2 separate regions of the Homo sapiens genome follow, and region 2 is linked to region 1. The links are contacts of gene promoters, found by promoter capture Hi-C in blood cells and fetal thymus (Javierre and others, 2016). All regions are on one chromosome and are shown on one strand. Each heading gives the region's core, a stretch centred on a gene start or on the middle of the fragment in contact. The rest is flanking DNA. Distances are from core to core; before and after follow the strand shown. Region 1 holds the start of CRIP3 (cysteine rich protein 3). Region 2 overlaps ABCC10 (ATP binding cassette subfamily C member 10).

Region 1 (6,483 bases), core at 1,893-4,392:
GATGTCCCAAGAGGAGACACTTAAGACAGTGCGCCTTTCACCTAGCAGAGCACAGCACTGCAGTCCATTGATGAATTTGGTGCAAGCCCTTCCTCAACGGATTTGATGTAACAAAGGAACTTACTCAAGAAAACTCGGTTTCACTTCCATCCTTCATAGAGGGATTGATTATTGTCTCCTCTGCTGGGACACTGGCACAAGTTTATCAGCTCTTCCCTCCAGCTCTTCATTGGCTACCTTTCCCCCCAGTCCCCCTGCCTTTTTTTTTTTTTTTTTTTGAGACAGTCTCACTCTGTTGCCCAGGCTGGAGTGCAGTGGCGTGATCTCAGCTCACTACAGCCTCAACTTCCCGGGCTCAGGTGATTCTCTCACCTCAGCCTCGCAGGCACATGCCACCAAGCCCAGCTGATTTTTTGTAGAGATGAGGTTCGCCATGTTGCCCAGGCTGGTCTCTAACTCCTAGGCTCAAGTGGTCCACCTGCCTCAGCTTCCCAAAGTGCTGGGACCAGGCGTAAGCCACCACTTCTGGCCGCCTTTTTTCTTTAGTTTTCTTCAGGTTCTATTGTTGTTGTTGTTGTTGTTGTTAAGACATTACGCATATACCATAAAATTCGCCTTTTTAAAGTCTACAGTTCATGCTTTTTAGTATATTTCCAAGGTTGTACAAACATTACTGCTATCTAATTCCAGAACATTTTTATCTTCCCATAGAGAAGCTTCGAACCCATTAGTGGACATTTCCAATTCCATCTCCTTGACTGGCCAACCACTAATCTACTGTCTGTCTCTGTGGATTTACCTATTCTAAATATTTCATATGAATTGATTCATATGATATGTGGCCTCTTGTGTCTTGCTTTTCTTACTTAATGTTTTTATGGTTTACCTGTGTTGTAACATGCATCAGTATTACATTCTTTTTTACAGTTGAGCAATATTCTATCATACAGATATACTACATATTGTTTATCCATTATCAGTTAATGAACTTTTGGGCTGTTTCTACCTTTTGACTATTGTAAATAGTCCTGCTATGAACATTCATGTACAAGTTTTTGTATAGACATATGTTTTCATTTCTCTTATATACCTGGGTATAAACCTGGAAGTGGAATTGCTGAGTCATATGGTAACTCTATGTTTAACTTTTTGAGGAACTGCCAGACTGTTGTCCAATGTGGCCACACCATTTTATGTTGCCACCAACAATGTATGAGGGATCCAATTTTGCCACATTCTTGCCAATATTTGTCTCTTTAATTATAACCATCCTAGTCAGTATAAAATGGTATCTCATTGTGGTCCTAATTTGCATTTCCCTAATGACTATTGATATTCAGCATCTCTTCATGTGCTTATTGGCCATTTGTGTATCTCTAGAAAAACATCTATTCAAATACTTTGCTCACTTTTAATTGGGTTGTCTTTTTGTTATTGCATTATAAGTTATTTATATAATCTGGTTACTAGATCCTTATCAGATTTGCAAATATTTCTTCCATTCTCTGGATTTAAATTTCTTGAAATATCCTTTGAAGCACTATTGAACTACTTTTTTTTTTTTCCACCAGTTGTCAAATGATCCTTTATTGAAATATTTTCCTTTGTGCTTAACTGGCTGGGCATTCCACAGAACCACTGTTGATATCATCTATGATGTCATGAGGGTGGCGGCCATCAACATTACAGCCCACAGACTGGGCAGTCCCCAGGATCTCTTTAATGGTGCCAGAGAGTCTATTGAACTACTTTTAACAAATATTTATCTGGGCATGGGGGCATATACCTGTAATCCCAGCACTTAGGGAGGCCCAGGCAGGTGGATCGCTTGAGCCCAGAAATTCGAGACCAGCCTGGGCAACATGGCAAAACCCCATCTCTACAAAAAATACAAAAATTAGCCAGGTGTGGTGGCATGTGTCTGTAGTCCCAGCTACTCCAGAGGCTAAAGTGAGAGGATCGCTTGAGCCGGGCAGGTGGAGACTGCAGTGAGCTACGATGCACCACTACATTCCAGCCTGGGCAACAGAGACCCTGCCTCAAATAAATACATTCATTAAAAACACAAATATTTAAAAATTTTAAAGCAAACCAGATTAGAAATGTGTAGTTGGTTTTCATTTTTATTTATTTATTTATTTTGAGATGGAGTCTCGCTCTTGTCCCCCAGGCTGGAGTACAGTGGTGCGATCTCGGCTCACTGCAACCTCCACACCTCCCGGTTCATGCGATTCTCCTGCCTCAGCCTCCCGAGTAGCTGAGATTACAGGCATGCGCCACCACGCCCAGCTAATTTTTGTATTTTTAGTAGAGACGCAGTTTCGCCTCGATGGCCAGGCTGGTCTTGGACTCCTGACCTCAGGCGATCCGCCCACCTTGGCCTCCCAAAGTGCTGGGATTACAGGTGTCAGCCACTGTGTCCAGCCACCCTACAGCTTTAGGAGTAAACGATTGTATACAGACCATGTTCTGAGGCTTCCAAACCGAGTCTTGAGTTCATTAAGGGATCCATCATAGTGATAGCTATAGCTGTTACAGCGTTTACATGCCAGGCGCTGTTTGGGCACTCTACATGTATTAACCTATTTAACTCTCATAACAATCCTATGAGGCAGAGACTGTTATCATACTCATTGCACAGATGAGAAAATGGAGGCAGAGAGGGAGGTTCAGTAATTTGCCTGAAGTCAAAGAGTAGGGTACCAGAGACGGGCTCCAGATTTTGTTGCTTTCAACCACTTGCTATACTGCCAAGGTGGAATTTTGCATTTCAAAGAATGCCTACTCCCTCGCTTTGGAGAGAGTAGTGTTTTAATGATGTCTGCACTGTGGACATTTTTCCTGTCCTTACCGCTCCAGAAACTAGTAGAGCTCCCTGTCCAGGTGTCTTCGTTACACATGTGCCTTCCTAGTCTGGAGTCCACGGCTTCAAGATCCTCTCTCCTCCCCGTGGGTCTGACCGAGGCTTTAATGCTCTTTGAAGTAACAGCGAAATAGCCCTTTGTCTCCCAAGTGGAGTGGTTCTAAATTTCTGATAACCAATGAGCGCCGAGGAACCGCGGATTCCGCCCAGGGAGGCTCAAAGCTGAGCCGTGGGTGGAGCCTGCGGAGGGGGCGGAACTGAGCCGCAGCGGCGTACCTACTGTGTGCCGCGTGCGCTGCCTGGAGCGGAGCTATGAGCTGGACCTGTCCGCGTTGCCAGCAACCTGTTTTCTTCGGTGAGGCCCGGGCTGCGGAGGGGGAGAAGATGGGGCGAATGGGAGCCGCTGGATTCCCTGAGGACGCGGAGGGCTAGCCACAGTGTAGTCCCAGACACCCTTTTCACCTGCAGCGGCTGGTAGTCTCCGCACCACCCGCTCCCACTCGGGTCTTCTCCCTTCCTCTGAGAGCTCTGTGGGGAGTGTGAAACCGGAGCGGGATGGAGCTGGCCTCCTGGAGACACTCATCTCCAGGAAGCAGGGCAGGCCAACCTAATTCCCTAGAGGGCCGAAGAGGGAAAGGAGGGGCCCTATGCTTGGACAGGCTCCTCGCAGCTCGGTTCCACTTTGTCCTCCACAGCTGAGAAGGTGAGCTCCCTGGGCAAGAACTGGCACCGCTTCTGCCTGAAATGTGAGCGCTGCCACAGCATCCTGTCCCCTGGCGGGCATGCAGAGGTAAGACCTGGCCAGGGAGCACTGCCCTGTTTACATCACTGCCTCCCACCCCCCAGGCACCAGCCCCCAACTTCAGCACTGGAGGCCTGCCAAAGGGAACCTCAGTAGCCAACCCCAAGGCCGCCCACCTGGTGGACCCCACACCAGCCAGGAATTTGGGAACCTGGGTCGTGACTGTGGATCCCATGGTTTTGGGGATCAGGGTGAGTGGGAAGCAGCGTCACCTTCTGAGCTGCTCTTGCTCTTCCTCCCTTGACCACAGTGGAAATGCTGGCATGCCAGCCCATCCCCCACCCCTCCCAGGCCCACCAGACTCAGCCAGTGGACAGACACACCTGGCAGCCTGTCTGGGGTGAAGGCCTGTGGGGCATGGCTCCCGCTGGCCTTGAGTAACCCACTTCCCTCTGCTTGTGCCCAGCACAATGGGAGGCCATACTGCCACAAGCCATGCTATGGGGCTCTCTTTGGACCCAGGGGTAAGTACCAGCCTTAAGGGGCCATGGGTCAGCAGAACCCTCCTTGTGGCTGGGAGCTGGGGGCTCAAGCCTGACCTCCCCTATTCTCTCTTCAGGGGTGAACATTGGTGGTGTAGGCTCCTACTTGTACAATCCCCCCACTCCCAGCCCTGGCTGCACCACTCCTCTCAGCCCCAGCAGCTTCAGCCCTCCCAGGCCAAGGACTGGCCTCCCCCAAGGCAAGAAAAGTAAGGCTGGGCTCAGCTCCTCCCAGTCCTCCTCCCGACCCTTCCCCAAGCTGGAGCGGAGGTTGGGCCAGGTGGCAGTCTCCTATCCAGCCCTCTGCTTCACATTCTCACAACTTCATTCTTGGCAAAGTCTTCTCTATCTACTCCCCGCTTTTTTTTTCTTTCTTTCTTTCTATTCCCTCATGTGAGCTGCTGAGTTAAGAGGTAAATTGTTGGGAGGCCGAGGCAGGTGGATCATGAGGTCAGGAGTTCGAGACCAGCCTGGCCAGCATGGTGAAATCCCATCTCTACTAAAAATACAAAAATTAGCCAGGTGTGGTGGCTCATGCCTGTAATCCCAGCTACTTGGGAGGCTGAGGCAGGAGAATCATTTGAACCCAGGAGGCGGAGGTTGCAGTGAGTCAAGGTCATGCCATTGCACTCCAGCCTGGGCAACAGAGCGAGACTCCATCTCAAAAAAAAAAAAAAAAAAAAAAAAAGAGGTTAATTGGGCAGATGGCATTATCCCCTCTCCTCGTGTGTTACAGGTGAGGAAAGTGAGATCCAGACAGGGCAAATGACTGTCCATCCACAAAGCTAGTCAGAGGCAAAGCTGGCCAGGAACTTAGGTCTGTCCCAGGCCAGGGCCATGGAAGGAATGATCTAAAGGAGAGGAGTCATTGGGATAAGGCCAGCCTCTCATATTCTTCAACTTTTCTCCTCTGGTCCCTGTTCTTTCCCTCCATTCCCTGAAGTAGGCAATGACACTGTGCTCCCCAACACCTGACACCCGTGCTGTGGCCAGCTCCTATATCAGCTCAAGTTTCCTGAGGATTGAGTTGCTAACAGGGTTGGGATGGTGGGTACGTGAGCCCCTGGGAGGATGAAAAGGAAGCAGGAGAAGGAAGCAGATAGTCCCTAATACACATAGGGATGGGGCAGGAGGTGGAGTCAGAGGGGGCTCAGCTCTGGGCCTGTAGAAGGCAGACTCTTGGGCGCCTGGGTGGGGCACTCTGGAATGAGCATGGCTTTTGAAAGAGGACAGCACCATATGCAGGCAGGTGCTGGTGGGCATCTCCACCTCAGACATAGCCAGGGCCTCTTCCCCTTTAAAGGCCCTCCCCATATGAAGACATTCACTGGGGAGACCTCGCTGTGCCCTGGCTGTGGGGAGCCCGTCTATTTTGGTAAGTAACAGTGGAAAACTTGGGGAGGGGGATACAGGGTGGGCAGCAAGGGGGAGGGAGGTGATCCAAGGCAGGTAGGTCTCCCTACTCTACCCCTAGAATGGAAGCATTACCACTTCTTTCCACCACCAGCTGAGAAGGTGATGTCATTAGGCAGAAATTGGCACCGACCGTGTCTGAGGTGCCAGCGTTGCCACAAGACCCTGACTGCTGGGAGTCATGCTGAGGTGAGCAGGGCAGGAATGAGTGGTTATGTTGGGAGGAGGCTGGAGATGGGAAGAGAACCAGGCTGAGACAGCTCTCTTTCTCTCTGTGTCTCAGCATGATGGAGTCCCCTACTGCCACGTCCCCTGCTACGGCTACCTGTTTGGCCCCAAAGGTGGGCAGCCCCATCCCAGACACTGGGATGGCATGTACATGCCTGAAGTATGGCATGTACATGGTCTGTGGGTATGTGTGGACAACTTCCCCTGTGGTTAAGCATACCCTGGCCCCCCCACCAAGTTCCCTCTAGGCCTGAACCCTGCACCACAGACCCAGGGCCTTTGGTGATAGGGCTCTCTCTCTCAGGTGTGAACATTGGCGATGTGGGCTGCTACATCTATGACCCAGTGAAGATAAAATTCAAATGAGACGCTCACAAAAAAGGTCACCCTAACTCAGGCCTCCCATCATGCCCCTCATGGTCCAATGGAAGCTACAAAAATCTCCAGTCCCATGGGGGTTGGGGAAGGTGGGATCTTGGGGGCCTGGGCCTAGGCTCCATGGTAGGCCAGAGAGTCTAGACTTTCTCTGCCAATTTTTTCCCTTTCCCATTTCTATCTGGTTAGGGAACAGCCCGTTTTGAAGGGTATCCTCCTCCTGGCCATCACAACCCCTTTCCCCAGCACATTCTGGAGCTTCAAGGTACTCATAAAACTTGTGTTTATTGAATTTCAGCCTCTGTGGCTTCTTCAATAAA
Region 2 (6,483 bases), core at 2,812-5,311, 140 kb before region 1:
GTCTGAAGCACTGCCTGCTGAGCCTAGGACTCAGGGGATCAGTATCTTGGGGCACAAGAGTGGAGGGTGTATGGTAGGAAGTACAAGAAAGATGAAGCTGGAAAGGTGGCCTGGGTCAGGGCGAGGAAGACCTTGAGATCACCAGCCATGAATCTGGACCTGGGCACTAGGAGTTCGCTGTCCTTGCCTGCTCATCCTGTCCTCCATTTCAGCCCCCTGATCAGCCCTGGCTGCTGTGAGTTTATATAAAGCCTTCCTGGCTATGCCCTCCTCTAAGTGCCAGTAGTTCTGGTTCCCCCTTCCCCTCCCAAGTCCATCTCCCCCAGACCTGAGCTGGGCCAGCTCCAGCTGGCTGGTGTCCACGCCGTCCAGCAGCACTCGCCCTGAACTGGGCTCTAGCAGCCGGAAGAGCACCAACAACAGGGAAGACTTGCCGGAGCCTGTGCGGCCCACGATGCCCAACTTCTCTCCAGGCTGCACGCAGAAGGTCACTCCATCCAGGGCATTCGGCAGCCCTGGCCGGTACGCCAACACCACGTCCTGGAACTCCACGCCCCCCTGGGTCAGCCAGCCGGTGCCCAGCTGGTGGGGTCCATGGGTGGGAGACAGACGGGGAAAGGGAGATAGGGGAGATGAGGAGCGATGGTGAGGAGGGGAGAATAATGAGAAATGGACAGTGTGAGAGGAATGAGAGAATGAGAGATGGGGAAGAAGGGACATGGTGAAGAATTGTGGTCATCATGAAGAGAGGTTATGGGAGCTGAGAAAGATGGGTGGGCAAAAAGAAAGGAATTGTGAGGGAGACTGGGGCCTTCAGGGTTCCAGAGCTTTGGCCTGGGGTGGGGGTACAGGCCCACCTGCAGTGGCTGGCCCTGGGGTTCCTGGGGCAGGTCACAGGTGTACTCTTCCAGCCGCTCGACGCTCACCAGCATGGCCTCTGTCTGTGTGAAGCTGCTCACCAGGCCCGAGAGCAGGCCCGTCAGGGACAGGGCATAAGACAGCGACAAGCCCACCAGCCCTGGGGGAGAGAAGTACCAGCTGCTGGGAGAGCTTGGACACCGGGACGTTTGTGGGAGACTCCCCAGGCTGTGGACTGCTGGCATTTAAAGGAAGCAACAGAGGCTGGGCGCGGTGGCTCACGCCTGTAATTCCAGCACTTTGGGAGGCCAAGGCAGGTGGATCACGAGGTCAGGAGTTTGAGACCAGCCTGGCCAACATGGTGAAACCCTGTCTCTACTAAAAATACAAAAATTAGCTGGGCGTGGTGGCAGGCGCCTGTAATCCCAGCTACTTGGGAGGCTGAGACAGGAGAATTGCTTGAACCCAGGAGGCAGAGGTTGCAGTGAGCCGAGATCGTGCCACTGCACTCCAGCCTGGGCAACAGAGCGAGACTCCATCTCAAAAAAAAAAACAAAACAAAAAAGCAACAGAGAAGCAGGAGGGTGATAGGACCTAGCCAGGAGCACAGGAGGCCAGATGCAGGGCAGGGGGTGGGCCTGGAGAAGCTGGGAGGGACGGCATGTGGGAGACTGAAGCGGGCTGGGGCAGTGTGGTGGGGACGGGGTGGAAGCAGGGAAGGGACTGAGACCAGCAGCTCAGAAGACTCATTCTAGTCCCCAAGCCACCACCACCTGGGCAAGTCCCTCCTGGGGATTGTCTCCTCAACTCCAAACGGGGGTGATGATGATAATCATGATACATCCTCACAGGGAACCCTGGGTGGGAGGTGAAAATGTTGGGGGGATGGTGCAGGGAGAGATCTGGGAGAGCGGTGGACTAACTTGTGGATGAGGTAGGGGTGAGGGGTCCTGGGTGGCACCTGGGTTAGCGAGGCCCTGCTGGTGCTGCACCAGAGCGATGCCTGCGATAGCGCTGACCACTGCCGCCCCCATGAGCTGTAGCCGAATGTCCAGCCACTGCATTGTGGCACTGGTGGCAAACTGGCACCTCTGGTTTAGCTCAAGGAGTCGCAGGTTCTCCTCCTCAAACCTAGGGAAGGCCAGAGGGATGTGAAGCCACTCCACTGTTGCCCTGAGCCACCCAGCCTCAGGGCCTCAACAGGGAAGGCCCTTATTGAGCAGCTCCTTCTTGGGAGCTGGTCTGTATACCCACAGGCCTCCCTCAGGGCTGCAGATGCCAGTGTGCTCTTTCAAAGTGGGGGTCCACTCTGCCTCCCTATCTCCTTCTTCTGTTGCTTTCCTCCTTCCCCATCCCTTGTCCCCAGGAGGGCTGAACCAACCATACCCTGCATATTCCTCTTCTTGGGGGTCTCTCTTTTCCTCTCCCCCCAACACCTCATCCCCCTGGGCTCTGGTTCACACACCTGTAGGTGGCCCCTGTGGCCCGGAGCACAGAGAGGCCAGCCAAGGTATCGGCCAGATGGCTATACAGTGGAGACAGGGTGAGGCTGCCCAGGCGCCGCAGCTCCCGTGAGGAGGCCCTGTAGTGGCGCTGCACGTGATAGTACATGATGCTCAAAGGCGGCAGCAGGAGCAGCAGCCAGGGCAGGCCAGAGCCCAGCACGGCCAGGAGCCCCAGCAGGCCTGCCGCGTTGGCCAGGAGGATGTTGAGGATGAAGGGCAGGCTGTCATCCGCACAGGCCACATCAGAGGAGAAGCGGTTTAGGATCCGGCCCGTGGGTGTGGCATTGAAGAAAGTCACTGGTGCCTGGGAGAAGGACGCTGATTGGGCCAGGGCAGAGTCTGGCAGAAGAGGGGTTGGCAGGCAGCACTGGGGGAGGTGGGGTGGAGGGGAAGGCCCAAGATAGAGAATAGGGAAGGACTAAAATATCCCCAGAATTTGGGGGCAGAGAAGAGAGATTGGCAGAGGTTGAGGAAGAATATCCCAGGGCAGGAAAGACTCTCCCATCCCCAGTGGAGCCCGAGTATTGGGAGGACACTCCACAGGGGCTAGGACTGCACTCCCCTACCCCCGAGGTCCCAGCCCCTCACCATAAGGACTCGATGCAGCAGGCGGCGATGCAGAGTGGCAGCTGCTTGAAGGGTGCCTGCTGCAAAGAGCACTGCCCGGAGAAGGGTGCAGAGGGAATTTACACCAGCAATGGTCGCATACACGGTGAGGTAGAAACGGATGTCTGAGGAGCCATTGGGGGCAGCTTTGGGCAGTGGGAACACTGGGATGCTGGGTGGTGAGGAGGGGGCTGTCGGTAACCAAAACTAGGGCCACTCGGGGGTCCTTTCTCCTCCCCCATGCCATCTCTCCCACCCTCCAGAAGTCACAGCATCTGGAATACCGGCCACAACCCTCACTCCCTGCCTGGCGACCACTCTGAGAGCACCAGGCCTACCCCCAGCCCCAGCCACTCACTAGAGGTTTCCAGGGGAAAAGAGGAGCAGCTGCGGAGAGAAGAGCCCCATAGAAGCTGGGCTGGTGGAGGGTTGCGCCTCCTGGGAGCTATTCTCAGCCTTCAGCTGAGAGATCCAGTGGGAGAGCCACCAGTCAGCAGCGTTCCGCGTGGCTGGGTGGGGACAGGAAGGAAAAAGCTGTAAGAGGCTCCTCTCCCTTGTTCATTCTATTCCAATGCCCCCTTTCTCCGCCCTTGCCTCTGGTTCCTGCCCATCTCCATCCGCCTGGCCTGGCCTCCCCACCCTGCCACTACCCCATATCCTCCCTAGTGTGGGCTTCTCTCATAGGCCCGTCACCCTTCAGCTCTGGGGAGAACAGGATCTCAGACTTGCAGAATGGGAGCTAACCTAGGGGGCAGAACAGAAGCCAGCTATAGAGCACATGCCTCTGGCCCCTGGGCATCTCTCAGAATTAGGAGTATGGCTTTTGTCCCAGCTGTGACCCATGCTTGGTGAGTCTCTGGGCTTTGTAATGATTAGTGCAAGGTAATGGGCACCTAGACAGCACAGCCGTTACGATGTAAGAGACTCCCAGGCACGCTCTCACCTTGCATGAGAAGCAGAGAGAAGAGGATGGCTAAGGCCAAGCCCTGGCCCACGGCCTTCCAGTAAGCTTGGTACACGTGCAAGGCCACGGCGCCCTCCTTCTTGCTTTCTTCCTGCAGCAGGCGACCAGATGTGCTCTGCTCCTCCTCCAGCCCCTCCTTTGTTTTCTCTGGGTTCTGTACTGACTGGGCTGTGGCTGTGAGAATCAGGGGTCATGGAAGAATTAAGCTTGCAGGGTGCCAGCTGAAAACTCAGTATTTCAGAGGAGCGGGCAGCCGTTGTAGAAAAAGCTCTACAGTGTGGCAGGGAAAAGCAAGCCCTTTTCTCCCACTGGGGAGCCATACCTGAGTCAGACTCTTGTCCATTCTCAGCCCAGGCTTTGGGGACAGCTTGTACCAGTGGCAGAATCTCAGAGGGAGGTCCTGGAGGGTAGAAGGGGAGATTGGGAGAGGACTGTTCTGAGTCTATACTATGCCTTTCTCAGTGCGTGTGCAGATCCCACCTCTCATCCTCTCAGGCCTCCCCGTCTAACCCACCCTAGCAGGATACCCCTAGACCTCGAGCAGGACTCTTAGGCCTCCCTCTCTAACCCACCCTGCTCTGGATACCCCTAGACCTCGAGCAGGACTCAAGTCCATCCTTGTAAACCTTGATTCCGACCAGCAGAGAGGGACGAATGTCCATCCCCAAGAGGACCGCCAGAGCTATGCCTGCCACTCTGTCCAGGGTTACTTCTCATTACTGCAGAGCTTTTTCTCATGCTTCGCTCAATTCCTAATATCTGGCTGGAGCTTCATTTCCTCCTATTTCTCTCCCAGTAAACTTGCAGGTGGTCACATCCCTCTGCATAAAAATCTTTCAGAGTTTAAAAATTTTTGTTTTTACAAAAAGACCATTCTAAACCTGACTCCTTTCTCTTCTCTGAAGATATGAGAATGTTCTCAGAGACCCTGGGCCTTTAAGTTCCCAAGAGCACCCAGTCACAAAGCCCATGAGTCCCAAATACACTGGCATTTTACCAACGTACTCCTTTTCCCTCCTGTTCTCCCAGTTCCTCACACCAGTTCTGTGAAGGCGGGAGGCAGCAATGACTGGCTCAGGGCACACATGCAGCAGGGGGCAGAGTCTGTACTTCACAATCCCCTGCCAGACCTGGGCAGACACCTCCCTCACACGGGGCTCCTGCCCCCATTACCAGCCCGGATGAGGCGCCCGGCCTCCATCAGCAGCACCGCGTCAGCCCTCTCCAGGTACTCAGTGCGGTGGGTGCAGAGCAGCCGTGTGGTGTAGCTCAGCATGCCCAGGATGCACCTGTGCAGCAGGTGGTTGGCCACATCTGCATCCACAGCGGCCAGAGGGTCATCGAGGAGATAGAGCTCCTTTTCCTATGGAGACGTGAGGGTACCGTGGGCACCAGGACCCAAAGGCTCTCCGGAGAAGATCTCAAAGTGATCAGAGAAGACAGTTGAGAGAAACTCTGGGGGCTACCCCTACACTAGCAGAGAAGGAGGTGAGACCTGAGGGTGGACATCCCTTCAGGCAAGAAAGAACAGCACCCCAGGGCCAGCACTCAGCTTTCCTAGGTCCCAGGCCCTCAGCCCATATAACACTTTTTTTTTTTTTTGAGACATGGTCTTGCTCTGTTGCCCAGGCTGGAGTGCAGTGGCATGAACACCACTCACTGCAGCCTCAATTTCCCAGGCTCAAGTGATCCTTCCCACCTCAGCCTCCTGAGTAGCTGGGACTACAGGTGCATGCTATCAAGCCCAGCTAAATTTTTTTGGAGACAGGGTTTCATTCTCATCACCCAGGCTGGAGTGCAATGGTGTGATCTTGGCTCACTGCAACCTCTGCCTCTCGGGTTCAAGCGATTCTCCTGCCTCAGCCTCCCGAGTAGCTGGAATTACAGGCATGTGCCACTATGCCCAGCTAATTTTTGTATGTTTTTCAGTAGCGATGGGGTTTCACCATGTTGGCCCAGCTGGTCTCGAACTCCTGACCTCAAGTGATCCACCCTCCTCGGCCTCTCAAAGTGCTAGGATTACACCAACTAACTTTTTAAAATTATTTTTTGTAGAGACAGGGTTTTGCCACATTGCCCAGGCTGATCTTAAACTCCTGGGCCCAAGCAATCCTCCTGCCTTGGCCTCCCAAAGTGCTGGGATTACAGACCTAAGCCACCATGCCCAGCCTACAAATACTTTTTAAAGGCCTTGAACTCTGCCTTAAATCTGCAAAAGGGGATGAGATGGCCAATACCTCAGGAACATGCAAGGGAGGAGGGAAGGAACCAGATGCTAAGGAAAATATTCCTATCCTCCTAACTCAGCCAAGTTCCCAAGGCTCTGGACTCCCCCCACCTCCCTGCCACTGCAACCTCCATCTTTAACTGACCTGGTAGACAGCACGAGCAAGGGCAATCCGGGCACGCTGTCCTCCGCTAAGGGTGACACCCTTCTCCCCCACCTCTGTCTGGTCTCCAGCAGGCAGGATCTGATGGAACAGGTGCCCCAGTGGGTCAGGGAGCTCCCATTACCTTCTGGCCCACTTCCTATCCCTTTGCAGGAGATAG

Evidence for each region. The method cuts DNA at HindIII sites, captures the fragments that hold promoters and counts their contacts. A CHiCAGO score of 5 or more calls a contact.
Region 2: a contact is called between a fragment that was not itself captured here and the fragment with the promoter of CRIP3 in region 1, in 1 of 17 cell types (naive B cells). The highest score is 5.3, in naive B cells.

Annotation. Positions count from the first base shown.
Region 1 is chr6:43,305,485-43,311,967 of GRCh38, reverse strand. CRIP3 (cysteine rich protein 3) reads left to right here and starts at 3,142. Exons shown (of 8, transcript NM_206922.3): 1 at 3,142-3,218; 2 at 3,559-3,653; 3 at 4,072-4,129; 4 at 4,225-4,356; 5 at 5,451-5,522; 6 at 5,655-5,749; 7 at 5,844-5,901; 8 at 6,093-6,483. The coding sequence starts at 3,176. The coding sequence ends at 6,154. SLC22A7 (solute carrier family 22 member 7) reads right to left here. Exons shown (of 11, transcript NM_153320.2): 11 at 6,430-6,483. It also overlaps the pseudogene RPL12P47. RefSeq lists an enhancer at 3,625-4,482. The HindIII fragment of the contact is 7,114 bases long and covers 719-6,483 here.
Region 2 is chr6:43,441,783-43,448,265 of GRCh38, reverse strand. It overlaps ABCC10 (ATP binding cassette subfamily C member 10), which reads right to left. Exons shown (of 22, transcript NM_001198934.2): 9 at 6,306-6,404; 10 at 5,107-5,296; 11 at 4,256-4,333; 12 at 3,913-4,107; 13 at 3,328-3,478; 14 at 2,952-3,141; 15 at 2,324-2,667; 16 at 1,820-1,989; 17 at 858-1,018; 18 at 329-582. Among named protein-coding and RNA genes, the nearest start is that of MIR6780B, 10 kb to the right of the region's middle. The HindIII fragment of the contact is 161 bases long and covers 3,981-4,141 here.